Linked DNA regions of Homo sapiens: regions 1, 3, 4, 5, 6 and 7 are each linked to region 2. Evidence: promoter capture Hi-C in 16 types of primary human blood cells and fetal thymus (Javierre and others, 2016). All regions are on one chromosome and are shown on one strand. The core of a region is centred on a gene start or on the middle of the fragment in contact, and the rest is flanking DNA. Distances in the headings are between cores, read along the strand shown.

Evidence for each region. Contacts are between HindIII fragments. The CHiCAGO score rates a contact against its expected background, and 5 or more counts as called.
Region 1: a fragment that was not itself captured here is called in contact with the fragment with the promoter of ATP6V1G3 in region 2 in 3 of 17 cell types (non-activated CD4 T cells, activated CD4 T cells and naive CD4 T cells); the score reaches 10.9 in non-activated CD4 T cells.
Region 3: a fragment that was not itself captured here is called in contact with the fragment with the promoter of ATP6V1G3 in region 2 in 9 of 17 cell types (non-activated CD4 T cells, naive CD4 T cells, total CD4 T cells and 6 more); the score reaches 20.2 in non-activated CD4 T cells.
Region 4: a contact is called between a fragment that was not itself captured here and the fragment with the promoter of ATP6V1G3 in region 2, in 1 of 17 cell types (non-activated CD4 T cells). The highest score is 5.3, in non-activated CD4 T cells.
Region 5: a contact is called between a fragment that was not itself captured here and the fragment with the promoter of ATP6V1G3 in region 2, in 6 of 17 cell types (non-activated CD4 T cells, activated CD4 T cells, total CD4 T cells and 3 more). The highest score is 10.9, in non-activated CD4 T cells.
Region 6: a contact is called between a fragment that was not itself captured here and the fragment with the promoter of ATP6V1G3 in region 2, in 4 of 17 cell types (non-activated CD4 T cells, activated CD4 T cells, naive CD4 T cells and 1 more). The highest score is 9.7, in non-activated CD4 T cells.
Region 7: a contact is called between a fragment that was not itself captured here and the fragment with the promoter of ATP6V1G3 in region 2, in 1 of 17 cell types (neutrophils). The highest score is 5.4, in neutrophils.

What each region holds. Positions count from the first base shown.
Region 1 is chr1:198,740,407-198,743,106 of GRCh38, forward strand. It overlaps PTPRC (protein tyrosine phosphatase receptor type C), which reads left to right. Exons shown (of 33, transcript NM_002838.5): 24 at 1,463-1,620; 25 at 1,826-1,961. Among named protein-coding and RNA genes, the nearest start is that of PTPRC-AS1, 75 kb to the left of the region's middle. The HindIII fragment of the contact is 658 bases long and covers 1,088-1,745 here.
Region 2 is chr1:198,539,364-198,542,063 of GRCh38, forward strand. It overlaps ATP6V1G3 (ATPase H+ transporting V1 subunit G3), which reads right to left and starts at 1,317. Exons shown (of 3, transcript NM_001376861.1): 1 at 1,206-1,317. The coding sequence starts at 1,287. The HindIII fragment of the contact is 10,140 bases long and covers 1-2,700 here.
Region 3 is chr1:198,684,001-198,686,700 of GRCh38, forward strand. All of the region lies in intron 2 of PTPRC (protein tyrosine phosphatase receptor type C), which reads left to right. Among named protein-coding and RNA genes, the nearest start is that of PTPRC-AS1, 18 kb to the left of the region's middle. The HindIII fragment of the contact is 7,286 bases long and covers 1-2,700 here.
Region 4 is chr1:198,757,751-198,760,450 of GRCh38, forward strand. No RefSeq gene overlaps it. Among named protein-coding and RNA genes, the nearest start is that of PTPRC-AS1, 92 kb to the left of the region's middle. The HindIII fragment of the contact is 518 bases long and covers 1,059-1,576 here.
Region 5 is chr1:198,704,704-198,707,403 of GRCh38, forward strand. It overlaps PTPRC (protein tyrosine phosphatase receptor type C), which reads left to right. Exons shown (of 33, transcript NM_002838.5): 9 at 2,031-2,249. Among named protein-coding and RNA genes, the nearest start is that of PTPRC-AS1, 39 kb to the left of the region's middle. The HindIII fragment of the contact is 2,212 bases long and covers 321-2,532 here.
Region 6 is chr1:198,722,209-198,724,908 of GRCh38, forward strand. It overlaps PTPRC (protein tyrosine phosphatase receptor type C), which reads left to right. Exons shown (of 33, transcript NM_002838.5): 15 at 208-268. Among named protein-coding and RNA genes, the nearest start is that of PTPRC-AS1, 56 kb to the left of the region's middle. The HindIII fragment of the contact is 3,520 bases long and covers 1-2,700 here.
Region 7 is chr1:198,334,782-198,337,514 of GRCh38, forward strand. No RefSeq gene overlaps it. Among named protein-coding and RNA genes, the nearest start is that of NEK7, 180 kb to the left of the region's middle. The HindIII fragment of the contact is 3,725 bases long and covers 1-2,733 here.

The DNA.
Region 1 (2,700 bases), core at 167-2,666, 200 kb after region 2:
GTCTCTACTAAAAATACAAAAAAATATTAGCCAGGTGTGGTGGCATGCACCTGTAATCCCAGTTACTTGGGAGACTGAGGCAGTAGAATCACTTGAACCTGGGAAGCCGAGGTTGCAGTGAGCCAAGATTGCATCATTACACTCAAGCCTGGGCTTTGCAGTGAGACTTTATCTCAAAAAAAAAGATAAAATTGACAAACCTTTAGTCAGACTAAGGAAAAAAGAGTGGAGACTCAAATGCGTACAGTCAGAGATGAAAAAAGAGACATTGCCACTGATACTTCAGAAATTTAAAAGATTATGAGATGCTACTATGAGCAGTTATATGCTAATGAATTGGAAAACTTAGAAGAAATGGATAAATTCCTAGATACATGCAACCTATCAAGATTGTAAAATGTCTCTTGATAGAGCTGTTTAAAAAACTACAAGTCTTTACATGGGGGTTAAGATTTTCTCTTAATTTCATTTATTGTAGGGCTTTTAGTAATCTAAATTTTATTTTTGTATAGTCTAGCTATATTTTCTACAGGAGAAACAGACTTAGTCTATATATCTCCGTAGGTCTTCTTAGGTTTCCATGGTATTACTAATTGTTATGTCTATAGAGTGCTGTGAAACAATCCTATCAATAGTTTCTGGCCAAACACTTGTTTGACTAAGCCACAAAGGCACCTGCTCCATAGATATGAGGATATATTTCTAGATTGATGCCTATCTGGCTACATTCTGTAGTCTGGGTTTACTGGTGTTAATTAACTCAGTTTGTGTGTTTCTTTTGTTATCTAAATGTAGATGGTTCTTTATACCTGGCCATAGAATTATGACTTATGCATCTTATGGTGGTTACCTTGAAATTAGAACAAACCTGAGCTCTAATCTGGGGCTGACTTTCCTCAGTCGTCTCTCTACATTCTGTGTTGACAATGCTACCATGTGAAGGCCTAAGGAATACAATGTTCATCAAATAATTAATCAGACTTTGCTCACATATGAATTAGTTCTGTTTGCTGGCCTATCAAGCAGAAGTATTTTAAACAGTTGTGAGAATGACCTTTACCAAATCATTTTAAACACAAATCCAAAAAGCTTCCACCCATGCACCCCACTTTTATGGTGTATGTTTATTTTGGGTTTTTTTTGCTTGACAGCATGCAAGTTCCTAGAAATTTTGGTTATACTTTTAAAGAAAGTATTACCTTACTTACCTTACTGTTAAGTTATTGCTTACAGGGTAGTACATGCAAGTCCTGCACAATATCTTAACTACTAGTTATTGATTAGAAAGGAAAACACAACCATGGTTGAGAAAATATATAAGACACCTGAGGAAACTATGAACTCTTTTGAGTAGTTTATGTTTACACGAGGAGACTTTGTACTGGTACTCCCTTCCACTTATTTATGTTTCATAGTTTGCTTTAAAAAAATCATCTCAAAGAAAATATTATCTCTTGACTAGAAAAAAGAAAAAGCAACTGGAAGAGAGGTGACTCACATTCAGTTCACCAGCTGGCCAGACCACGGGGTGCCTGAGGATCCTCACTTGCTCCTCAAACTGAGAAGGAGAGTGAATGCCTTCAGCAATTTCTTCAGTGGTCCCATTGTGGTGCACTGCAGGTAGGAAAAACGAACAAAAAAAAAAAACAACAACAAAAAAACTCCAACAGAATCCACCTGCCTAGGGCTGTTAGAGACATCTTTCCCTTTGGCAATTGCTATTTTGGGAAACAACCTATGGGAGAAGCTTAGATTCTTATATTGGCTTCACACCTGACAGCTTTTCCATGATCATGCCTCTGCTTTTTTTTGCTTGGTTTGCCAGTGCTGGTGTTGGGCGCACAGGAACCTATATCGGAATTGATGCCATGCTAGAAGGCCTGGAAGCCGAGAACAAAGTGGATGTTTATGGTTATGTTGTCAAGCTAAGGCGACAGAGATGCCTGATGGTTCAAGTAGAGGTATGTTCTAACCTTTAGTGATTATTCTCACTTTGGTTTTTTGGACTTAAATCTTTTCCAAGTGATAATAATGATATTTTTTAAAAATCCAAATTCTTCACAACCTCAAACAGTAGATGATTTCCTGAAAACTAAAACGTGGTAATCACCAGAAATACTTAGAAGCATTTTTCATTAGTGCCTAAAAGTACTGTGGAAGAAAGATGACCACAAAATATATAATTTTTAAAATAATGAACTACTGTTAACATATATCAGATTGGCAAAAAAAGTAAAAATGCTGAAAATAGATTTGGCATCATCTCATAAAATTAAACTGAAGAGACAGAATAGTATAGTAATCAACAGCTGGTTTTAGAAACTACACTTACAGGTTTCAAATCTTGCTTTTAATTATTAATACGAGGGTGAGTGGTATTGTTTATTAAGTAATTTTAGTCTGACTGCACCTCAGTTAAGTCATCTGTAAAATGGAGACAATGATAATACCTCACAGACTTATAACCACAAAAGTAATACAAATAAAGCACTTAAACAAGTCCCTGGCCCATGCTATGCATTTGGTGATTGTAAGTGATGGTAATTACTGAAAATGTCTGTATTTGACCCAGCAAAATCACATATATGCATATACCCAAGAGAAGCATCAACTAGAAACATTTGCAAGAATGTGCATTGCATTCAGCATTGTCAAAATAGCAAAAAAAAAAAAAAAAAAAAAGTGAAATACATATCAATG
Region 2 (2,700 bases), core at 67-2,566:
TTTTGAAAATATGGCCCCTGTTTTGCCAGACTGAATCTAATTGCAGAGGCAGGACACACAAGGAGAGTGAATGACACTACAAATTATTGTAGATTGAATAATGAGGTGATATGAAATGGGATAGTGAAAAAAATGTCTTGGCCTTGGGAATCTGAATTCCAGTTGTAGATCTGAGACATATTAATTTTTTTATTATGCAAATTGTGTAAATTTTGTAAAGCACAGTGGTTAAGATCTGGGCTTGGAAATTATAGCTCATCTAAATCTTGTCTCTACCATTTACCCTCTGTGTGACCTTAGACAAGTTGTATAATTTCTCTAAGCATCACTTTTGCTTTTTCAGTAAAGGTTGTGAGGAATAAAGATAAGCAATGAGCATGGTGCCTGGCACAATATTTTCTATTTTTAAAATATAACCTTGAACAAATCAGTGACTCCATTTCTGCATACATTGGGAATAATGTTAATATCCTATTCATTTGGCTGTTGTATCAAAGAGAATAGAAAAGGTGTTGAAGTTCATTGAGGACATTCTATATGTAAGTACATGAATGCATGACCAAATGAAAAGAGAGCTGAGTACAGTGGCAAGTGCCTGTAGTCCCAGCTACTTGGCAGGCTGAGGCAGCAGGATCTCTTGAGTCCAGGAGTTGGAGTTCAGCCAGGGCAACATAGTGAGACCCTCATCTCTTAAAAAATAAATTAATAAAAATAAAAAGAGAGGTAGAAAATGAGAATAAAATGAAAATATTTTAAAATATTAGATGTTAAAAAGCTACCAAGAGAGGGATGAGAATGAGCCATTATTATTCTGATTTTATGGAAATGAAAACTGATGCTTATAAAAAATAAGTAATTTGCTCAGGTTTACTCACTAATAAGTAGATTCAATCCAGAGGTTTTCTACCCCCTAACAATGTTGAGAAAACAGGCATGGCATAGCCAAGGCTTAAGCCCACATCTCTATAATCTTAATGTCCATGAACACATGACCTCTCAAAAGGATCTGAATGAGGAAACTTCATCCCTGCTCTAGAAATAAGGAACATATGGCTGGGTAATTTTAATGAATGGGTGAAGGTCTCACAGGGAGTACAGTAAACCAAAGTTTGAAACAAGGTCTGCCTAATCCAAAAGTCTATGCTTATCCCTGCATTCCACTGCTTTGTTTATTTCGTGACAGACCCCTCACAGGTGAGACTTACTCTTCTTGGCTTCCTCTAGCTTGTCCTTGGCCCGTTTTTCTGCCTGAAGAAGCTGGTGGATCCCCTGAGACTGGCTTGTCATGGTAGTCTGCTCCAAGCAAGTGGCTTCTGTGAAATCTGGGAAGTAATGGGTTCATTTATTCTTTTAGAAATTAACATATAACTCAGATTATTGTGTCAACAGCAAGTTCCAAATGCAGCTGTTTCAAACTGGCTTTATTGGGCTGGATAGCTGGGTCCCAAGGAAAGCCCAAGGTGGAATCTAGAAAAACAAGTTAAACCAATGTGCATAAATTGAGAACTTACCATTTCTGCCAATCTTAGCTCTTCTGTATGAGATAAGGAGGTATAAATGAGGTGTTGCATCTACTTATAAATAATGAATAAGAGACCTTTTAAGAATGTTGGTTTCCCTAATCTTCCAAGAAACATTGACATGTTTACTGAGTTTTTCTTTTAAGTAACAAGATCTTTGCTCTTTGTACCTGCAGTACTTTGTTTCAGGTCTTTTTCTTTATTTGTTTCTAGTGATTCAGTTATCTGCTTGGAGAAAACGTGTTAATCTTTTGTTAGGAAAGAGATTCCCTAGCTTTGTGCATAGATGGTGGACTAAGGATTTTTTTCCCCCAAGGTCTCAGGTGACTGGAATAAAAAGATTTCTTTTGGGCATTGTGCTGCTCTTAAGTAATGCTGTAGGTTGAAGTTCCAGGAAGATCTTACTATGGTGACTAAACAATTAGTAATTTTAGTAGTAGTAATCATGATAGAAATAGACTATAACTGTAGGTTTTGGGATTAAGTTAAAATAATTTAAACATGCATTTTATATTATTCAGTGTTTGTGGTGAGTATTGTCCTAAGATAATACAATAAAATCCATCATACTTGATTTGATTCGATCCAGTAGCAATTGGACAAATCAGAATATTGGTCACAGAGAAGAACCACAAAGTATCATTTATATGTATCTAAAATTTTTATTTGAAGTGAAAAGCTAATCTGTTGACTTAGAATAAGGCTTTCCCCCCGATACGATTTGCAGATTGGGGTTTCACGTATTATTGCTTTCATAAACTATACCTCTATTGCCTCATATGTAAGTGCCAGGTTCATTTTCTTTAATAAGGTGTCTGGATTTAAAGACAATTGTAAAACAATCTGGGCACTAAATCTTTTAAGGCTTTAATGATTATTTTCTCCTAATCTTTTCAAGTTGTCTCATCCATATCTGCATGCCTACATTATGTGTGCATTTTCAGCAAATATTTTCAAAAGGAAAAACTTTTCCACAGGATCACTTTTACTTTTTTTTTTTTTTTTGAAGTCACATTTAATCAGCTTATAAAGTACTTAATTTGTATTGCGTAATTAAATACCTGGTGTAACTGGGATAAACCGATTTTCGAACAAGCACAACTCTTGTATGATCCCTCCAGACAAAAAGATACAAGGTGGCTTAACAGGAAGAAGTCCTAGAGAGGAAAAAGCCTTTGGG
Region 3 (2,700 bases), core at 55-2,554, 140 kb after region 2:
GGGCATGTAGCATGAATTACTTCTGAAACAAATTTGACTATGGGACATTTAAAGGCACACAAATCTAAATCAAAGACTTCAATTTGACCATCATTGCACAGGAAGCGATAAAATTTTCCCCCTGACTTGTAGATAAATAGTTTAAGACAGAAAAAAAGCAGTGTAACTGATTGTTCTTAAATGGTTATCTAGTAGCCTTTATTAATTTTTTTGTCATTAATTGTTTCGTTAATCAACATGCCTGAAATATATAACATGATGTTTTAAACCAAATATAAAATACCTACAAATGCATTCCTAGTTTTGAGGTGTGTGTTTGCAAAGTCATATGTATTCACAAGCAAAAAACATTATTGTAAATATTGGACACCATAAGTCATTGGGAGACAGCTAGATATGGTTGCTATCTTTAAAATTTTTTAATTATTTGATTTTATTCCTCTCATGGCCACAAAAATTTGCCTTCTTTATCCTCAATACTGCTTTACATACTGATATTTTTCTTTATTATTTGCATTATTATTTAAAAGTGTGTATATAATTTGAAAGTTTAAATAGTACCATAAGGCCTAGAGTAAGTAAGAACAGTCTTTTGCTCCCACGACTCTCCCCTCCCTTGATATTTTGTGATTTTTAAATGTTATCTTTTATTGTAGTGCTGTTTCTTTAAAACAAAAAAAAAGATTTTTGCCAGTATCTATTGACTTCTTCTCTTGATCTTGAGATGTTGCTTTTTATAACCTCTTGCTCTTTGTTCATGGGTGCAATGTTTTCTCATTTCTGAAAATATGAATTGTAGTTGGTTATCCTCTCTTTTGCTCCTTGCATTGCCTCATTCTCCCAAGTGCCTCTTTTGTTTATTTGAGCTCTATCTTTCTTTCTTATTAGAGGCTTTGTTCTAGTGTTTCTTGGATGTCCATTTGTATTTAATAAAAGGCCTCAATAAAGGGATGTTGAAATTCTTTGGACATTGGTGGAGCTCATAAATTCATGTGCTTTAACTAGATTGAATGAAATCAGAAAGGCACTACACTCACTGAGTCTTAGTTTCCTTATATATCAAATGAACTGCATGTCAATAATCACTAAAATCCTTTGCTTCTGTCTGAGTAGAAATCTTTGGAATTATTTTCTGATGATAAGCAGAAAGTCCTTTACTCATGAGATTCCAAAAATAATATTAATATACCCAATATTTTAACATAACGTCTACATAAAGAATAAGAAAATTATTAAATAGACACTATTTCAAATCTAGCACTTTCCTCGTGTGTGCCTGTGAGCAATTTACTAAACTCTTTTAGGTCCCAGTTTCATTCCCTATAAAAAAGGATAAATAATGCTAACTCATTGGCTTACTGGGATGCTTAAAAGAAAAAAAATACATATATATTATATAAAGAGGTGTGCATAGTGTCTGCTACATAACATTTCAGTAAACTGTTGCCATCATTATTATATTTACTGATAAGCTAATGGAGGGTAGAAAAGACTGTTTCCTGTGGTTCTCTGAAATCATAATACCTGGCTTGTCGCTGCCCAGAGTGCTTACTCCATAAATACTTAATAATTTAATATGATTTGTTAGATTTATTGTCTGTGGACCATATAGCAGATTTCTAGCATAAAAAAAGTGCAATTCTCTTATTTTTATTGTGCACTTTATTATTATCATGCATTGCTAAGAAAGGAAAGCCATACATATCTGTTTTAGCTGACCCTTATTTTTTGTCTTGATTTGCTTTTTTCCACTTTTGTACAGGCTTTATGTTTATGGAGGTCAAGTATGCATTCTCAACCTTCAAAACATGCTATCATTCATTTTAGGGCAGATGCTGAGAATAAGTATTTATTTAATCTATTCTATTTTACCCTTCTGCCCTTGTACTTTTCCCAGATTTGCAGAACTAGACAGGTTTAAATTCCCTAGGAAATAGCATCCCATTTTTTTTTCTTTTTTTTTTAGCGGGGAGGGAGAACGGGTGATATTTAAAGCCCAAGTATGTCTTTTGAAATGCCGTTTTCACTCAAATTGATTCCTAGTTTTTGCTGAAATCTCTGATCAGGGACTTAGGGGTGTGACTTCAAGGTAACTTTGATTTGTGATCATTTAAACATTTTGAGTTGTAAAAGAAACATATTGGGAAAGGTAAATTCAGTAACAATACATGTGTTAGAATAACACAGCTTTGAAGATCAAGTGTTCTGTTATCTACATTTTCATCTGTTTAATGTATCTAGTCAATTCCATTGGTGATTCACAACAGGATTATAATGGGAAAAAGAGCTCTTAGATAATTTACAGTTTTTTAGTGCTATGGTGCCACCTACTGAAATATTACTAAATACTCCTTTGACTAAATAATGAAAACACAAGACATTTAAGTTTTAAAAAATGTAGAAAATTTCATCCCTAGAAGATAAAAGTCAAAGTGTAGAATGTAGTAACTGTAATATGTGGAACACTAGATATATTACTGTGTTTTATTTTATATTTATTTGATGTGTTTATAGAATTTGAGAGAAAGCTCAATGCAGTTCTTACTTTGAGAAATAGTGATGCCTTCTCTTTATTGTCACACACCTACACATGTGCCCTCTTAATTTCCATTGCTATGTCACATATTTTGCTTTACCTATTTTCCACACTTTCCCAGTATTGTTCATAAAGAATGTTTACATATATTGTAGTGTAATTTG
Region 4 (2,700 bases), core at 68-2,567, 220 kb after region 2:
ATATTAAGGTTACTTATTACATCTTTACTTATTAATGAGAAAAGGGGATTAGAATCACCAATTATGGGCACAAAAAATAAAGTTTGCTTTCACTTACCTCTTCAGTCACTCAAACTATTATGCATTCTTTTCTTTTATTGAAACTTGATCAGTTGCCATTTTCTAGATAATGTAGTTAAAATTTGCAGTTCTCATGTTCAATAGAACATTATGATGTATGCCTACTTTATCTGTTAATTGCTTCAAAATACAAATAGCAGAAAGTCTAAATAATCTACAAGCAAAGTTTTTCTTCAGAAGTTTCAATTGCAAGTAACATCTTCCAAATGTAGTTGTGTGTTTTAAATGTGTTTTCCACCTGACACTATCTTTTGAAAGATTAAAAACTACTTAGAAAATAGAGCAATAATAATTTCTATTAGTTTAAGAATCAAGCTTGAGACTTTTTTTCTACATATGGGAATTTGTTGTAAAGAAAGAGATGAAATAGTGGCTCAGAAAGCCCACTACTTTGTGAGAACATATACTAAACCGAAGGTGAGACCCATGGCACTAGAACATGGAATTATATGTCTATGATTTTTACCTGTAGAAAGAAATAATATGTGAATTATAGGTCTATGTCTATGGCCATGGGTTGCATTAATGGGGATCTGTTACAAGGTATAAAAGATTTATTTGCTAAAGTTTGGCACTGCCATTATTAATTCTAGGATCCAGTCAGAAATATTAAGCAAAAAGTTTTGACTTACAAAAGCCTGGTACACTGTAGGGATAATGTTATGAATCCAGAACATTACATTTATTGGGCAAAAAGAAACTTCTAGGTTTCTTTTAAAGTTGTTTGCTTTATTCCTGGTATTAGAATTCAATGGGAATAAAAGATACATTTAGTAAGCCTAAACTTCAGGTCCCAAGCTATTAATTGTGTACATAAGTGACAAATAAATATTTTCATTTAAGAGATATATATATTTTAATATTTTCTTGCAAGAGGAAAACTGTGTAAAGTGATTAGCTGAACATCTGTCTTTGCAAAGATAATTTTAAATGCGTTAAGCTTCCCCTCAGAATTCTTATATTTGTACAGAGAAATTTTCCTGTTTTTTTCCCTCTAAAATATTAAACATAAAATTTATTTTTACAACTAACTAGGACTGATCTTAATTTTAGATTTATACCAGATATTGGTTATAAGATGATTTCATAACACCATATTAGATCTGAATAAGTGAATGCTATTTGCTCCTAGCTAATTGCAGCATGTTTCTTGATATGAAGACCTTAAAATATATCACTTCAAAGGAAATGAATATCTGTTAAAATGAGTAGAAAAGGCTATGCTTTCAATCTCCTACACAAATTTTACATCTGGAATGATCTGAAGGTTCTTCAAAGACATTCAAAATTAGGCTTTTTTATGTCCTGTTTTAAGTGAAAATATTTATTCTTCTAAGGGTCCATTTTATTTGTATTCATTCTTTTGTAAACCTCTTTACATTTCTCTTTACATTTTATTCTTTGCCCAAATCAAAAGTGATTCCTAAATTTTAATTATATTTGTAGGACAATTAAAAGCTTTTGATAACTTACAACAAATGAATTCTTGTTTTTTGCTAAGATCCCGTAAAGAAAACTCTTCTTCTTTATTCAAACTATCCATGATTACTTTCTTCAAAATGACATGAAATTTGATTGTCAGATAAAATACAAGGCATTGGGTTACATTCGAATTTTAAATGAAACAAGAATAGTTTTTTAGTGCAAGTATGTCTCATGCAGTATTTGGGACATATTTGCACCAAAAATTGTTTCTTGTTTATTAGAAATTTAAATTTAACTTGGCATCCTATTTTTTTTAATCTCGCAGCTTTAACATGAAAGAATCAACTATATCTACTTCACTTAAAAGAACATTTGTAGTTCTCCTTGCAGAGAGAGACTTCACCTCTCTAGTTAGCTGTATTCCTAAGCATTTTATTATTTTTGTGGCAATTGTGAATGGGAGTTTGCCTCTCAGCTTGGCTATTGTTGGTTATAGCAATGCTAGTGATTTTTGCACATTGATTTTGTATCCTGAGACTTTGCTAAAGTTATTCATTATCCTGAGAAGCTTTTGGGCTGAGACTATAGGATTTTCTAGATACAGGATCATGACGGCTACAAGCAGGAATAGTTTGACTTCCTCTCTTCCTATTTGCATGCCCTTGCTTTCTTTCTCTTGCCTGATTGCCCTGGCCAGAACTTCCAATACTATGTTGGACAGTAGTGGCGAGAGAGGGCATCCTTGTCTTGTGGCGGTTTTCAATGGGAATACTTCCAGCTTTTACTCATTTAGTATGATGGTAGCTGTGGGTTTATCATATGTGGCGCTCATTATTTTGAGGTATGTTTCTTCAATACCTAGATTATCAAGAGATTTCAACATGAATGGATGTTGAATTTGATCAAAAATCTTTTCTGCAGCTATTGAGATAATCATGTAGTTTTTGTCTTTAGTTCTGTTTCTGTGATGAATCACATTTATTGATTTGTGTTTGTTGAACCAACCTTGCATCCCAGGGATAAAGTCTACTTGATCATGGTGGATAAGCTTTTTGATGTACTGCTGGATTTGGTTTGCTAGTATTTTGTTGAGAATTTTTGCATCAACATTTGTCAAGGATATTGGCCTGATGTTTTCTTTTTTTGTTGTATCTC
Region 5 (2,700 bases), core at 177-2,676, 170 kb after region 2:
AGCGATGATGGAGGGAGGAAGACAAGGGTTGGGAAACTACCTATATTGGGAACTGTGCCTACTTGCTGGGCGTCGAATTCAATTTTACTGCAAACCTCAGCATCCTGCAATATACCTTTGTAACAAACTTGCACATATAACCCTGGAATCCAAAATAAAAGTTGAAAACTAAGTTTTCCAGTTAGACAACTTTGGTAAAGCCACTTAATTTAATTTAGGTATTTGAAAAAAAAATGGAATAACAGCAAGTTTGTTGGTGAGGGGGAGGGGGACAAGGATTCAGTGTGATGATAAATATAAAATGTGGATAATACCTTCAAAGCTTATCAAGAAGAAAAATCTCTCTTTTTCTCTCTCTTTCTGTCTTGCTTGTTAGGGGCTGGCTCAAAGCAGATACTTGAAAACAGTTTGTCTCTCTTTTTTTTTTTCTCATTTTCTTCCTTGATTCTCAGTTGAAGCAAAGCGGTTCTTCATGGTCAGGGCTTATTCCTCCATTCATTTCTAAGTCTAACCACTGGAGTCACTGCCTTCAGTAGCTTTCCATACATTTAGTGTAAAGAGTGGCCTTCATATGTCTGTTTAATTAATATGATCTTTTGTAATCCGGTTGTCATTCATCTCTCCTCCCGCCTCTTGAATCATTGCCTCCTTATGTTCTTCACTTAAGTAATATGGAACCACTTTCAGTTTTCTTTTCTTTCTTTCTTTCATTCGTTAGTTCTTTCTTTCTTTTTTTTTTTTTTTTCTCACTCTGTTGCCCGGGCTGGAGTGCAGTGGTACAATCTCAGCTTACTGCAACCTCTGCCTCCTGGGTTCAAGTGATTCTCCTGCCTCAGCCTCCCAAGTAGCTGGGACTATAGGCACATGCCACCGAGCCCAGCTGATTTTTGTATTTTTAGTAGAGATTGGGATTCACCATGTTGCCCACGCTGGTCTTGAACTCCTGACCTCAGGTGATCAACCTGACTCGGCCTTCCAAAATGCTAGGATTACAGGCATGATCCACCACGCCTGGCCCACTTACAGATTTGTAAACACATACTGTTCCTTCCTGCCTCTGTGGCCACTCCTGCTCTTCCTCTACAATTGGAATTCTGCTCCAACCTCATCCCCCAAACCCCATGTCTATTTTTCTATTTCCTGCTCATATTTTAAAACACAAACTAAGTCACTTTCTCTGGAAATCCTGTCCTATACCTCCAAATGGAACAGATCTCTCTCTTTCTAGTGCCACATTATTTCCTGCATAATCTTATTTTAGAGGTTTGTATGTCTCCTGCAATTCATGCTTGTGTCTGCCTCCACACTGGATTATACATTTCTAAAAGCTGATTATATCTAACTTGCCTTTGAATTCCTAGTATTGGTGACCATGTCTTACATATGACAAGGGCTTAATAATTTTTGTTGAATAAAAACAAATGAATAAATTTATATTTGTTGTAAAGATATTTTTATCAGTCAGCAGAAATTGTTGACACTAAACAAAGGTGCTTTGGAGGTATATTATCAATCATAATTTTACCCAAGTTAAGGAAAGAATGAGGGCTTCTGATCCCTGAGTAATTAATGCCCCACATATATCAAGAAACAGGTGGTTAATAACTACGTTTTAGAAAACAAGAAAATTATAAAGCAAGAATAAATTTCTCAAATGCATCATTTATTTGTGCATCAAGTCAACAAGTAACTAGTGAGTTCCCATTAATGATACATATTATGCATACTCCTGAATTTACAGTGATAATAAAAATAGCCTAGACTTTGCTCTCATGGAAGTTCCAAGTCCAGCTAGGAAGACAGACACTTATCTGGTAATCATCCAAATATAAATTTACAAGCTGAGGTCCTTGTTAGGGCAGTAAAGCACAGATAATTACGAAAAAAATGATATGGAGGCACCTAATGTGTTTTTTCTTTTTCATGTTTTTTGGGGATATTTGGTTAGTTGATTTGATATTTTGGCATTTGCATTAATGTAGTTTTATTTATTCTGGAAAAATAACACTCAATGTTCTATTTTCTTTTAGATGAAAAATATGCAAACATCACTGTGGATTACTTATATAACAAGGAAACTAAATTATTTACAGCAAAGCTAAATGTTAATGAGAATGTGGAATGTGGAAACAATACTTGCACAAACAATGAGGTGCATAACCTTACAGAATGTAAAAATGCGTCTGTTTCCATATCTCATAATTCATGTACTGCTCCTGATAAGACATTAATATTAGATGTGCCACCAGGTAAATATCAATTTATTTCTTTTAATAAATTTATAAAAACAGTACACTTTTGTGTGTGGTGTTCTCCAGTGGTCACAGGAGCTAGTCTGGTGAGAGAACAGGGCTGAGGGAAAGGAAATTCCTTGGAAACAAGTGGGTGAACTTTCTGCTGTCTTAACCAAGTAAAAATGATAGAGTCAAATAAGCCTTCTGTTTACATCCATTAATCACCACTTCTACTTATTTAACAGGGAGATGTTTATGTGCACTAAATATAGTTTATCCTGCTAAGTGATTGTCTGCAAGCTTTCTTTATTCTCCTCTACTTAAATGAAGTATTAATTATATATGTACATATATTTATTCTTTTAAGTACAAATTTATCTGAAATATATTAGGGAGAAACATAAAGGATTTGATGTGTATGGGAAGAACCAAAATACATTCATAAAAAGGAAGGTTATGGTCATGT
Region 6 (2,700 bases), core at 66-2,565, 180 kb after region 2:
AGATAAGATATCTTTTTGATTGTCTTTTCAAATATATTTGACAACATACTGACATAACCTTGAAGTTTAAAGCAAATCAGCATACTTTTATTGTATGCATGGTATGAAAGATAATATAAATGTTTTACATTGTGATATATAATATATATATATATATAAATTCACATTAGCAAACTAATTATTTTATTTTTTGTTACTGAAATTCAGGCCTATTTTCACAATGGAGACTATCCTGGAGAACCCTTTATTTTACATCATTCAACATCTTGTAAGTTATCACTGGGCTATTTATTATATATATTAAGATATATATTAATGCTTATAAAGCTATATTATTTTACACTTATAATCACATTTGATTGTTAAATGCTTAAATAATATCTCTTCCGTAAATGTAATATTTTTAATTGTCAGTAAAACCATACATATATATGTAAATATATTTAAATACAATATCTTAAATTCAAGTTAGGAGATTCAATTATTAAAGGTTTGTTGAATTCATAAGAGGATTTATATACCCAAACTATTAAATTATGTTTATGTTTATGAAATATCGTCATGTTAGTAACATTTTTCGTGTACTATTTTAGATTATCTATTTTATTCTGTCTCTTCAGCATATGTTTAGCAGAAGTGGGCCTTAGATACAAGTCTGTCTTGATTTACTTAATGGAAGCTAATATAAGCACTCCCTAATAACAATATACTTATGTAAATATTTATCACTGATATTTAAAATATTTTCATCAAAGTAAAGGTGTACATGAAAAATTACTTAGAATTAAATTTCATTATAATAATGAAAATAACAGCTGCATGTTACATTCCCCACCCACAATTCTGTTTGCCAGGCAACCACTTTTAACCATTTCTATTTTTGGGTCTCCTTATAGTTTCCTTCATATATATATATATATATATAAACAATATTGTATACTGCTCTTTCTAGAGTTACTAACATTACCAATTGATCTGAGCCTATGGAGGAAGGAGACCTAGTACTCTACTTTGGGCTTTCTCTACTGGTTAACATTGTAAATAGAATTATTTAAGCCTGTATGTACTTTGTTGTCAGCAACTTCTAGGTCTTTCTATCTTTGCCACTTCTAGTTCTTCCTCTCTTACATATGTTACATATGCACATATGCATGTGCACAATCACTGGTATGAATGCAAAGTCAAAAGAGAAAATATAAAAACAGCTTATTTTCCAAACTGCTTTACTAAGCCCTCTGCAAAGTTTTAGTTCTTTCTGCTCAGATTTATGAAATAAAAACTCCCTGTGTTAAATGTCAAAAAAGTCCAGCAAGATAGCTTTGATTTTATTTCCACATTACCTTTTTCTTTTATAATATCTTTATAATAAAAATGACTTCATTGACTCTTTCCTATTAAATTGTAAATAATTTATAGCAGTCATAGACTCAGCTGAACATTCACACTCACATCTTAATAGGCCAGATCTGAAACATTTCACCTGGAAAGACACAGAACAAAAAGCACAGCATGCTAGCAAGGGAGCCTGGCAGTGGGAATCCTTGCAGCGGGAATCCTTGCAGCAGTGCACACAGCAATCCAGCTACTTTTCTTATGACACTCTCAAAGACAACTGAGATATGAGAGAATGAGACCACATGTGTAGGTGTAGGAGCTGCATTCCAAAAGGAATCAGTATCTCTTATACTATTTCCATGGGCATAGCTTCCAGACATGCCAACAGGGGTGTGCTCAGTTATGAGCGGGCACTGCACTCAGGGAAACCCAAAGCTGGTACTTCCCATGAGGACAATAGAGTTCACATATAGCACTCCCTGTTCAGGTGTAGTTTAGCAATCAAGGGTCATTTTGCCATTAGCAATGTTGTCTGGTAACCAGCTAATATTCCACTTTTATCAGGTTTCCAGGTCAACGGAGCCAAAAAATTAGCCCTCATCTTTTTCCACAAAGGAGACAACATTGTATTCACTCTCTGCTCACAATATCATTATCCTAAGAGATAAATAATATAGTTTCTTTTAAAATAGTGATATCTGTTCCAGGAAAGGACTTGGGCTGTGAATTGCTAGGGTACAGCTACTAGGGATGTGTTGTTGGGTTTCCCCGGCATAATATTCCACCACCTGTACTTTGACATCATTGTCAATTGAACTCCTGGGGACCCTTTCTTCTTGCTCTGATCTGGACTCTCACATGCCATCTTGAAATATTCCCCCATCAGTTTTCTGGTTTAGATTTGCTGTATCACACATAGTTATTTTTTTTTCTGTCTGAGTTCACTGATATATGTTCTCTAGTGTAAGAAAAATAATTCTAATTCTCCCATACAAAAAAAATTTTTATTCTGCTCTGGCACTTGTTCAGTGTATCGACTTGGTATAAAATTCTAAGTTAAAAATTTTAGAATTTAAAAATTATTTCTGTCTTATTTTCCTGAATCCAATTTTACTTTCTAATTCCATCCTGATTCTCTCTCTCTCTCTCTCTCTCTCTCTTTTTTTGGTCTGTTCCCAAGTTTTCCTCCCCTGGAAATGCTAGGTTTCTGTCTTTATTCTTGGTCTTACCTGAATTTTTTGTTTGTTTTGTTTTGTTTGTTTTTGTTTTTGTTTTTAGAGGGAGTTTCGCTCTTGTTGCCCAGGCTGGAGTGCAGTGGCATAATCTCGGCTCACTGCAACTTCTGCCTCCTGGGTTCAAGTGATT
Region 7 (2,733 bases), core at 65-2,564, 200 kb before region 2:
GAGTTCTTATAGTTGTCATTTAAAAATATTGTTCATTATTTTATTAAAGCCAGATAGAAGGCACTTTCTCAATATTCCCATTAATATGGGTTTCTGTCTCCTTCCCAATTTATCTTCACATAAATTAGGATGCATTTTCTATAAGGATACATGATATAGTTAAGCATGCTAATCTTCACCAAAAGGGTAGACTGATTATTTAAGTCAGTTATTTCAATTTTTTTTTGTCTTCCCAGCTAAGCCAATTGGATCTGTCAGTGAAAACAAAAAAAGAAGGTATTTTATTTCTCAAGAAATGGCATTCACTTTAATATATTGCATTAAATCCAAATACAAAATATATTTTTGAAGTCGAATAATGAAAGAACGTGCTTCATTTCTTCAGATATTTGTGACTTAAAATCAGTTAATCAATGTGTCATAGGTATATATGTATTTGTATTTCTGTGTAGTGGCTCATAAATAACCAATTTTACTAAACTACACATAAACATTTGTAGCCTTCCGCTTTTAACTCTGTATGTCATTTTTTAAATTTAATATCTCATTTATTGCTGAGATGGTGTAATCATTTCAAATTATTTGATGATTTTAAGTATTTCTAACTAGTTCATATCCTTTTGGCAAACCATGCTCAAGAGTAAAGTCACTCAATAATGTCCTTAAGACAAAATGAAGATCCTTTTTTCAAATTTTATTATTTTTAAATTTAACTTTTATTTTAGGTTCAGGGGTACATGTGCAGGCTTATGATACAGTAAATGTGTGTCATGGGAGTTTGTTGTGCAGATTATTTTATCACCCAGGTACTAAGCCTAGTACCCATTAGCTATTGTGTCATGGGGGTTTGTTGTGCAGATTATTTTATCACCCATGTACTAAGCCTAGTACCCATTAGCTATTTTTCCTGATCCTCACCTTTCTCCCACCCTCCACCCTCTGATAGGCCCCAGTGTCTATTGTCCCTCTCTATGTGTCCATGTGTTCTCATCATTTAGCTTCCACTTATAATGAGAACATGTGGCATTTGGTTTTCTCTTCCTGCATTATTCTGCTAAGGATAATGGCATCTAGCTCTCTTTATATTCCTGGAAAGGGCATGATCTCATTCTTTTTAATGGCTGCATAGTATTCCATGGTATATATGTACCATGTTTTCTTTATCCAGTCTACCACTGATGAACATTTAGGTTGATTCCGTGTCTTTGCTATTCTGAATGGTGCTGCAGTGGATGTAAGTGTATGTGTGTCTTTATGATAGAATGATTTATATTCCTTTGGGTATATACCCAGTAAACAGGATTGCTGGATCAAATGGTATTTCTGTTTTTAGGTCATTTGTTTTTATTACCTCTGCCAAGTTCATTGTTAGCTATTCATCCTCCTCATCCCCTCTGGAAGTTCTTTCTAAATAATGTTGTAGAATTATTTACTCTTTTTTTAAAATTCATTTTTGAGTACTACTTTATCTCAACAGTAAAAGTTCCTGAAGTTACTTATATAAATTCATTAAATTTTTGTGAAACACACACTAAAGAAAAATTGATTCAGAAATTGTCTGTTTTTAAGATATGGAGTATAGTTTGGAGACAATATAACCGAAGGTAAGTGCCTTAACAAGAATCTTCCTCCCTATTTTATACTTATTTCTACTACAGTTTTCACTTGGTTTAGAAACCTTAATTCCCAGACTGTCAGCCTCATTAGGGCAGGAAGGGGTCTACTCTGCACACTGTTGTAGCTTTAGTATTTAGCCCAAGTGCTGGCCCAGGGTGCACTCCATAAATATTTATCTTCATTTTCTATTGGGGCTATAGTAAATTAAATAATACAAAGTTATTATCTTACAGTCCTGTAGGTCAGAAATCTTAGAGGAGTCTCATAAGATTTCAGCAGGGCTGATTCCTTCTGGAGGCTCTAGGGGAGAATGTGTTCCTTTGCCTTTTCCTACTTCTAGAGGCTCCCCACTTTCTTTGGTTCATGGCCCCTTCTTCCATCTTCAAAGCCAGAAACTGCAGGTAGAATCCTTCTGATGCTGCCATCTCTCTGGTTCTCTGCAGTTGGGAAAGATTCTCTGCCTTTAAGAACTCATGTGATTAGATTGGGCCTATCTGTATTATCCACAGTACTCTCCCAATCTCAAGGTCCTCAATCTTAAGCACATCTGCAAAGACACTTTTGCCAGGTAAGATAACATGTTCACAGGCTCTAAGGATTAGGCCATGGACATCTTTAGGGGGACCTATCGTAATGTCTATTAAATGAAAAAAACCCTGAAAACGTCTCATCAATTTTTATCATCAAAACTAGTCATCTACTTCTAACCATCTGTTGAGCTCCACTTCCATTTCCAGTGTGGGCACTGACATTCCAATGGGCATGCCTACCTTTTTTCCTAAGAATCCCTTGCTTTGATGGGTCAGCCTTCTTCTTTGGTGTTCGATTCTGCCTCTGTTCATTATCACTCTACCATGTCAGCAGTCTACCATTAGGGATCACTGTCAATAATGATTGGAAGTTGATATGGTTTGGCTCTGTGTCCCTGCTCAAATCTCATGTTGAATTGTAATTCCCATTGTTGGAGGTGGGGCCTGGTGGGAGGTGATTGGATCATGGGGGTGGTTTCTAATGGTTTAGCACAATCCCCCTCGCACTGTCTTGTGACAGAGTTCTCACAAGATCTGATTGTTTCCGTGTATAGCACCTCCCCCTTCACTCTCTTTTCCTGCTCCA